Regions from separate parts of the Homo sapiens genome. Here regions 1 and 3 are each linked to region 2. The links are contacts of gene promoters, found by promoter capture Hi-C in blood cells and fetal thymus (Javierre and others, 2016). All regions are on one chromosome and are shown on one strand. Each heading gives the region's core, a stretch centred on a gene start or on the middle of the fragment in contact. The rest is flanking DNA. Distances are from core to core; before and after follow the strand shown. Region 1 overlaps WDR11 (WD repeat domain 11). Region 2 holds the start of PLPP4 (phospholipid phosphatase 4). Region 3 overlaps LINC02930 (long intergenic non-protein coding RNA 2930).

Region 1 (2,700 bases), core at 51-2,550, 410 kb after region 2:
AGAACGCACAGGAGTTCCATTTTTACAGGTATCTACAATTCATAAATTATATTCCCCAAAATTATTAAGAATGTTATATTAAAAGAAGGCCATAATCTTGCATAAGTCTTGTCTTCAGTTCTCCACTTTCTCTTTTCAATTTATCAAAAGACTAGCAACACTATTTTAGATTGTTTTTTTTGTCTGCACTTTTGATTGGTTTGATTTACCCTAGAAATTGTGACTGATCCTGAGATATTTATTGAACTATTTAAGTCACATGGGTAAAGACAAATTATTTTAGGATTATAAATGGATATTTTAAATGTACATTTAGTTTTAAAGTTTGGGATTTGTCTATTTTTTTTTCTTTTGCCCATATTATCTAAATATGAGTTTGAGTTTCACAGTATATACTTTATTAATCTATTGTGTTTTAAAAAATAAATATATCATCTATTTAAAGGTAATACCCTGCTTTCAGCGTGATGGTTTATTTTGTCTACATGAAAATGGTTGTATAACTTTACGTGTTCGAAGATCTTATAATAACATTTTTACCACTTCAAATGAGGAACCAGGTGAGTTTCTGTCTCACAATAATGTTATATTTTTCTTCAAAATTATTTTATAAAGCTTGATGTGGCAAATACCAGCCAAGGTATATAGTTAATGATACTCCTTGCTTTGAGGAAGTTTAAAATATGGTTATAATAAGAGGCATAAAAAGTATAAGCCCAAGATTAATCTCTTGATGTTAAAACAGTGCACCTCCTGTATACATCAAAGAGAGTAAAATTTTGTGTTTCTTGATCATATCCATGAGCCAAGTAGATATTATTTTTTGGAATTTTTTTTTTTTTTCAGTACAAGTCCAACCTTGTGTGCCTTTATTATTATACCCCCTTGACTTGTTGGCTGTAAGAACTTCCATTGTAAAGTGACAGAGGTTATTAAGTCTCAGTTGTCAAGTCAGTCTTATCTTGGAGAATGGAAATAATGTTTTTGTGAAATTATATACTGTGTAAAGATCAAAGTGATTTTCACATCTTTTGGAAAGTACAGTTATTTTCAGGCTTATAGACTACTACAAATTATGATGGAAATTTATTCATTAATTATATATCACTGTTGATCCTTTTTCAAAGTATCGTCTTTATTTTAAAATATTGAAAAAAGATATCTTGATTATAGTTGTTATTTTGGAAATTAAACTTAGTACAGTCATTAAGTAAATTATATTTGGAAAAAATTTAGTAGTAATTGTAAAAAGTGAAGCCATGCTTGACATTGCATTCATGAAGGAGTGATGCCCAAATTTAGTTGAGGTTTTATTTAAATTGAAACAAACAGTAGTGGTATCGATATGGCTGCTTTCTGATATTTAAAACAATTTTATGTGAAGATCCAGATCCAGTTCAGGAGCTTACCTATGATTTACGAAGCCAGTGTGATGCAATCAGGGTGACAAAAACCGTCCGTCCCTTCAGTATGGTGTGCTGTCCTGTCAATGAGAATGCAGCCGCCCTCGTAGTGAGTGATGGCAGGGTCATGATATGGGAACTCAAGTCTGCAGTTTGTAATCGAAATTCACGGAACAGGTAAATGAATCAACAGGATCATGGTTTTGTTTTTTGTTTCCTGTTTCCTTTTATAAAAAATTTCCATAATCATAAAAATAGGAGGGCTGGTTTTCTATAAAAATATTTTTAAGGTAATAATTAAGGCTTTAGATTATTAGGGAATTATGTAAATCTGCTAGAGCTATTTCACCTATGGGTAAGATGAATGAATAATATAAAAATAGATAGAATGCCATAATCTGGACTTAATACTTTGAATTCCTAATACGTAATGCAGATTTTAAGTATGTAAAACCTTCTAATTATTATGTCTTTGCAGTAGTTCTGGTGTGTCACCTTTATATTCACCAGTGTCTTTCTGTGGAATTCCTGTAGGAGTGCTACAGAATAAACTCCCAGACCTTTCCTTAGATAACATGATTGGTAAGCTTTTTTCCCCTCTAACTCCATGTTAAGTATTCTTTCTGAAGGGCAAAATTAATAGAATCACTCACTTGTAATTATTTTAAAGTCAAAAAAGTTAATACTTGAGAAAACTAGAACATGGAATCATTCTTTCCTAAATAAATCAGAGGGGTTTAAAATACTTAGGTAGAAAAGTGCCTGAAGTAGCACGGGTTTGCATTATAGTTGTTAGAAATAGAAAACGTTCATTCGTGAGAGACTGATGTAAATGAAAGCAATGACATTAGGCATCTGGATTTTGGACCTAGAGCCGATGCTGAGCTATGCCATGCCAACTCAGGGCCTTGCTGTTTGCTGGTTCCTCAGCTTGGAATGAAGTACATGCTTCCTTTCTGTCTGCTACTCCTAATTCAAAATTCAACTCAGATGTTGTTTTCTTTAATCTCCCAAGTCTAATTTAAATGCTCTTCTTTTGTTTTTCCTAACAGTTATCAGCATATTTTAATTGTGGGTTTTTTTCTTCTGTTTCATCTCATCAATTGTAAGCATCACAAGGGTGGTACAGTGTTTGATTCTATTTTGTCTTTCCCAGCACTCAGCACAGTACCTTGTGCATGCCTGTTTTGTAGTAAATATTTACTGAAGGAATAAAGTAACTGAGCAGTATTAGAAAAGATTATTTTAACTTTTTGACATGAATTATTTTTATGTTGGGGATTCTTTCAAAAAATCA
Region 2 (2,700 bases), core at 78-2,577:
GATCTGCACGTGTTTCCTTTGGAGGTAGGGTCTGTTTGCCCTTTGCTGATGCCAAGGGCTTCCTCCTAAGTTCTTTCTACCTGCTCCCCCTTTTATCCAGGACTGAGCCATAGCTCCTTAGTCCCAGGAACCACCTTCTAATCCGTGTCCTCTGCTCACACAATTTTGGCTGGGTCTCTCCTAAAATCCAAGAGAGGCCTGGGCTCCCCAGGAACAACCTAATGGTTATAATCACTGTGTGTTTTGCATTTTAAATGTCTGCTTGGTTTAAATTAGTGAAGCCAAGAAGTCAAAATTCTAAGAAAAGTAAATAAAATTCTGACCGGTTTGGGAAAAGCAAATCCAAGCTCCTGCTGGGCTCCAGCTGGAGGTCGTGACCCCTAGGCTGCGAGGGTTGGGCTTTTGGCTCTTAACCTGAGGATGAGGCTCTGGGTTCTACCTGCTGCCTGGCTGACGGCTGGTTGAATGCTGTGTCAGCGACGAGCGACCCTGACTTCCCACACACCGGCCAGGCCAGGGACGGTGGCAGGAGCTTTTTCATATTCCACAGTTCAGCAGCCCCAAGCTGCTGGGGGCGGAGGACAGGTGGTGGGGGAGAGAGGATTCGGTCCCCAGGGGCCACCTGGCGCTGGTGGCATGGCGGGGAGCCAGGCTTGCCTTTGCCCTCTCTCTGTGCCGGAGCCCTGGACCCTGGCTGGCATCTCCTGAGAGCAAAGCGAAGCCCGCGAGTGATCTCTGGGGAACTTCCTAGAAAAAAGAAAGAATTTCAGGTTCGAACGGTGTAGGGAGGGCCGAACACGGGAGCAAGGTTGGCCAGGGCTGCCCTGAGCCCTGGAGAATCCCCAGAGCGATCGTCCACTACATGCCCACGTGCGTGCGTGTGCCAGGGAGCGAGAGCCCGGACAGCGGGAGTCGGAGGCAGGACCAGGAGCTGCAGAGGGGCCGCGGGCAGAGCCCCAGCGAGCGCGCTGCCCTGGCGCGGAGCCCAGGGGCCGCCCACTGGCGGGGGAGGCGGGGAGCGCGCAGGGAGGCGGCGGCGGCGGTGGGGCTTCCCCGGGCTTCCCCTCCCCGGTCCGCGGGTGCCCGGCGCGGGCCCAGGAGGCGGAGGCGGCTCCTGGGGAGAGGGATCCGGGAGTCCCTGAGGCGGCCCCGGCTCCGCACTAGGAGGCGGGGTCCGCAGTATCGCCAGCGGCCGGCGCGGCTTCCCGGAGCCCCGGAGCCCGAGGCGCGAGGTTTAGGCTGAGCCCTCCCCGGCGCCTGCCCCCGCCCGGCGCCCGCCTCCGCCCCCGCCCGCGGCCTGGAGCGCGCCTCCCTCGCCTCCCAGGGTCTGGCGAGCCGGCGCCGGCCGAGCTGCGGGAGCCGCGGAGAGCACCAGCTGACGCCGCGGGAGCTGCTCCGGCCGCACCATGCGGGAGCTGGCCATTGAGATCGGGGTGCGAGCCCTGCTCTTCGGAGTCTTCGTGTAAGTAGTGGCGCACCGCGGGCAGGGCGCACTGACGCGGGGGAACAACCGACCAAGCCTCTCTGTGCCCTAACTTAGTTTGCGCAGCCGCTTCCCACTGGGGCCTGGGTTCGAGGTCCCTTCCCCGCCAAGTGCCCGCAACGTGTCCTACGGGACCAAGAGAGACCCTTCCTCTCTCCTTCCTGGGACCCTAGGCGCGGAGCGACCACCGCGCGCCGAGGCTGAGACCTGCTCCCGGGTCTCACCGGGCCCGCGCCTGTCGCCAGCCCCGCACCACCTGCCCGGGGGATCCAGGGCTGCACCTCTAAACAGGGACGCGCACCCTGGCCCGTGCCCTCGGGAAGTTTCTCCTTCTGTGTGATCTTTGAGGCCCACGTTGGAAGTCTTTACCCCTGGCCCCGTCTCCGATTCCTCCCCGCTGTGCCCAGGGCCAGACTCCTTCCGTGTCCCTGGCTTTAGCGCCCGCGGTCCTGGCGAGCGTTTTCCCAGCGGGCGTTTGCGGCGCTTCTCCTACTGAGAAACTGTTGCTGTGGAGGCTTGAGAAGTCAAGGGGCTGCAGGCCGGGGTGGGATACACACACCCTGGAGCTCTGTGCCCGGTCGATGTCCGCTTTGGGGGCGGAGGCCCTCCAGGGGTAGCCGTGAAATGCCCAGGGTGGCTTTGAGCGGCTGGCACTGAGAACAGCGATCCCGAAAAGAAGAAGGGGTGGTGGCGCAGGTTCTTTCAGAGATGCCTGAGCCTCCTCCGTGCGCCCAGGGACCCACCGCTCATTGACTTCCAGGGCCCAAGCTGCAGGGAGCTGTCACATCTCTCTTTCAGACCTGAGCCCAGAACACCAGCTCAGAGCCACCCCGCAGCCTCCCGTGAGCTGCTGTCACCTAGGCACCCACACCTGCACTGGTCCCTCCATCAGTGAGCCAAATTCTCTCCCCCTCTCTGCCCATGGATGTTTTCTGCCACATTCTAAGTATTAAAGTTACATGAACTTTTTGGATTTGCCATGCATTTATTTATTTGTTTGTTTTTGTTTTCGTTTCTGGAAAAGCCCTCCCGAGCCAAACAGGAGGCCCTCTTTGAATTTCTGCCTCAATCTGGAGTCATCCATGGCAGGTGTGCTGTGTCAAAGATGACTTCTGTTCTGGGCAGCCCAGGGGATACACATGGAAAGAAATGCCCTTTCTTGCATGTTTTTCTTTAGCAGGGATTAAATTCATCCAGAGTATTTATTCACACCATCA
Region 3 (2,997 bases), core at 235-2,734, 280 kb after region 2:
AACCCAGGGAGTCAATGTCAGCTCTGCCCTCTTAACAACTATGCTTCTGTTCAAGATCACAACCCGCCCTGCTCGTAACCACCATACTGTCCTGCTCCTTATTTGGAGAGGTTGGACAGTCTCAACTGGGATGCAGAAATAACATCCCTGTAGGCAGGACTCATGGGATCATGACAGGTGCCAAAGGGGTCCCCTCATATAAGCACCTTCCACTGAGGTAAAAGCAATGAGTGTGAAAACAGATTTAAAATCTAGTGCCTTGTTAAAAAGTCCTGTTTTAGACCATTACAAGACAGAAATCTCTGACTCCATTTTCCTCTCTCTAGAGTTCTGTATTACAAACTGCCCAGCATGGAAGCACATTTCTAATCTAAATGATCTCTACAGATTTTACCAAGGTGAGGAGCCCAATGTGGATCCTTTCATCCTAATGCAGTCTTCTGTGAACCATTCCTGATAGTTACCCATACTCTGCCTGAACATTTTCCATGTCATTCCGTCTTTCCTCATGGAAAGACACCTCCCTTCACCTCTTTTTATTTTAATCAGGCAGGGTATAACCTACATGAAGTAAGTTATACCATTCTTTTTGTTTGTTTTGTTTGTTTGTTTGTTTGTTTGTTTTGAGACAGAGTCTCGCTCTGTAGCCCAGGCTGGAGTGCAGTGGTGCAATCTTGGCTCACTGCAACCTCTGCCTGCTGGGTTCAAGCAATTCTCCTGCCTTAGCCTCCCAAGTAGCTGGGATTACAGGCACCTCCCACCATGCCTGGCTAACTTTTTGTATTTTTCGTAGAGACAGGGTTTGTTGGCCAGGCTGGTTTCAAATTCCTGACCTCAAGTGATCCGCCCGCCTCAGCCTCCCAAAGTGCTAGGATTACAGATGTGAGCCATCGTGCTTTCTTAAGTGTACAACTCAATGACTTTTAGCATGTGCATGATTCCGTGAACTGATGTTTGTCATCATATACATTCACTTCTCGTAGGCCTATACTTAGGAATGGGATAGCTGAGTAATAAGTAATGTTTAGCTTTAGTGTCAAACGTCAAACAATTTTCTACAGTGATCAGACCAAATTACACTCCCGTCAGCAATGTGTGCAAATGTTCCAGTTGGTCCACATCCTTGTCAGCATCTGATATTGTCTTTGTAAGCTTAACCATTCTGGTGGGTGTGTAGTTCTATCTGGTTGAGATTTTAATTTATTTTTCCTATTAAGTAATGCTATTGAGCATGTTTATATGCTTTTTAGCCATCTGATATCTTCTTTCATGAGATACTTGTGAAAGTCTTTGGCCCATTTTTAAATTTGGTGTTTTGTCCTTTTTTTATGATTCCTAGGAACTTTTATATACACTAAAAAATTTCCTATTAGCTAGGAAATATTATTTAAGGCCATACATGGTGGCTCATGCCTGTAATCCCAGAACTTTGGGAGGCTGAGATAGGAGGATAGCTTGATGCTGAGAATTTGAGATCAACCTGGGAAACATAGAACCAACTTTACAAAAAAATTTTTTAGAGAAAGAAGTATTATTTAAAATTGAAAGCTGCTATCATGTCTTGCTCCCTCTGCCCCAATTTGGAAATCAGATCATGTTTGTAAAGGCAAACCATCATGTTCAGGGGTGGAATGTGCCTCTTGCTGCCAGATACTAAATTATCTTGTTGGACTATAAATGAGAAGTTTGCCCTTTTGTGGGAAAGTAAGGGCACATGGTTTATATTAGTATTTCAACATAATATAAGACACTTACTTTACGTCATAGCCACTACCTCTTCCTGATGCTCTGGTCTAGATTCTGGCAGGTAGAAACGAAAGCTTAAGGGGAAAAATTACCATTTTTATAGTTAGCACTTATGGGCCAAGAAGTTATTCAAGTTATTCATTTTAATATAACTGATTTTTAAGGGCCTATAGTAATAATGGTCATTGATCACCTTCTCTGTGCCAGACTCCTGGCTAGGCATATTGTGAACTTTATCCCATTTAATTTTCACAAAAGTCCTACAAGGTAAAGATGAGGAAACAGACCCACAGAGAAGTTAGAAATGTGTCCAAGGTCATAAGCTAATAAAGGAAGAGCCAGGATTCAAACCCATGTTCAAAGTCCATGTCTCCCAAAGAAAAAATTACACTTTTACATCATTGTGAAGGTTGTAAGTTTTCTGTAGATGAGAAAGAAGTTTAAAAATTATCCCCATTCTGTTTTTATCTTGTTCTATGAACTTCCCTTTCCAACAAAGCAGCTTGGAGTTTGTGTGCCACAGTTGGCACTTAGGACTCTCATGAATTTCCAAGTCGATTCTGAGGGCAATGGCGCCGTGTGCAAATGTTTGTTTAAAGACATGCTGTGCGGTGGCAGGACCCAGCCTGCTCAGGCAGCAGGGGGAATCAGCACGGAGGCAGTGATCACACCAGGTATCAGCTCCTGAGTGAGCCTGCCTGTCTGTCCCTCCCTTCAGGGGCTGTGCATAAAGGCATTTCTCTCCAGCAAACATGCACATCATCCTGTCATTTTGAGCTAGAATCTTCCTCCCAACTTGTTATCATTATCAAAAAGCAAGTTCTGTACCTTCAGACTCTTTCCCTAAGGGAAATGAGACTCAAAGAAGGGTTACTGATATCAAAATTTGGGGCTCTCATTAAACTATGGTTCCCTCTGTCTTCCGCAGTAGAGAAGAATTCGTTCAGAGCAGTAATGCACAGGGTAGAAATGGAAGGTCTCAATAATGGTATTCAAATGACTGATGGGGAAATTTCAAAATATTTCCAACGTTTCTCTTAAGATTGAACCTGATTTTTCACTACAGGGGAATATACATGCTGAGTCCAGGTTATGCTCATGAAAAGTTACCCAGAGCAATCTGTGTCTTGTCCACAGTGCACAGATCTCTTTAACCTGATGGGATGTGAAAATCATGACAATTGAAATAGCATCACAACTTTCTCATGTTGATGAATAGATGGCCCAGGGTATACCTTTGACTTAGTCTAT

Evidence for each region. The method cuts DNA at HindIII sites, captures the fragments that hold promoters and counts their contacts. A CHiCAGO score of 5 or more calls a contact.
Region 1: a fragment that was not itself captured here is called in contact with the fragment with the promoter of PLPP4 in region 2 in 1 of 17 cell types (M0 macrophages); the score reaches 5.6 in M0 macrophages.
Region 3: a contact is called between a fragment that was not itself captured here and the fragment with the promoter of PLPP4 in region 2, in 4 of 17 cell types (endothelial precursors, M0 macrophages, M2 macrophages and 1 more). The highest score is 7.6, in endothelial precursors.

Annotation. Positions count from the first base shown.
Region 1 is chr10:120,865,185-120,867,884 of GRCh38, forward strand. It overlaps WDR11 (WD repeat domain 11), which reads left to right. Exons shown (of 29, transcript NM_018117.12): 6 at 1-28; 7 at 446-560; 8 at 1,385-1,580; 9 at 1,882-1,985. Among named protein-coding and RNA genes, the nearest start is that of WDR11, 15 kb to the left of the region's middle. The HindIII fragment of the contact is 1,375 bases long and covers 614-1,988 here.
Region 2 is chr10:120,455,900-120,458,599 of GRCh38, forward strand. It overlaps PLPP4 (phospholipid phosphatase 4), which reads left to right and starts at 1,328. Exons shown (of 7, transcript NM_001030059.3): 1 at 1,328-1,462. The coding sequence starts at 1,407. The HindIII fragment of the contact is 6,130 bases long and covers 1-2,700 here.
Region 3 is chr10:120,739,243-120,742,239 of GRCh38, forward strand. All of the region lies in intron 2 of LINC02930 (long intergenic non-protein coding RNA 2930), which reads left to right. Among named protein-coding and RNA genes, the nearest start is that of WDR11-DT, 110 kb to the right of the region's middle. The HindIII fragment of the contact is 668 bases long and covers 1,151-1,818 here.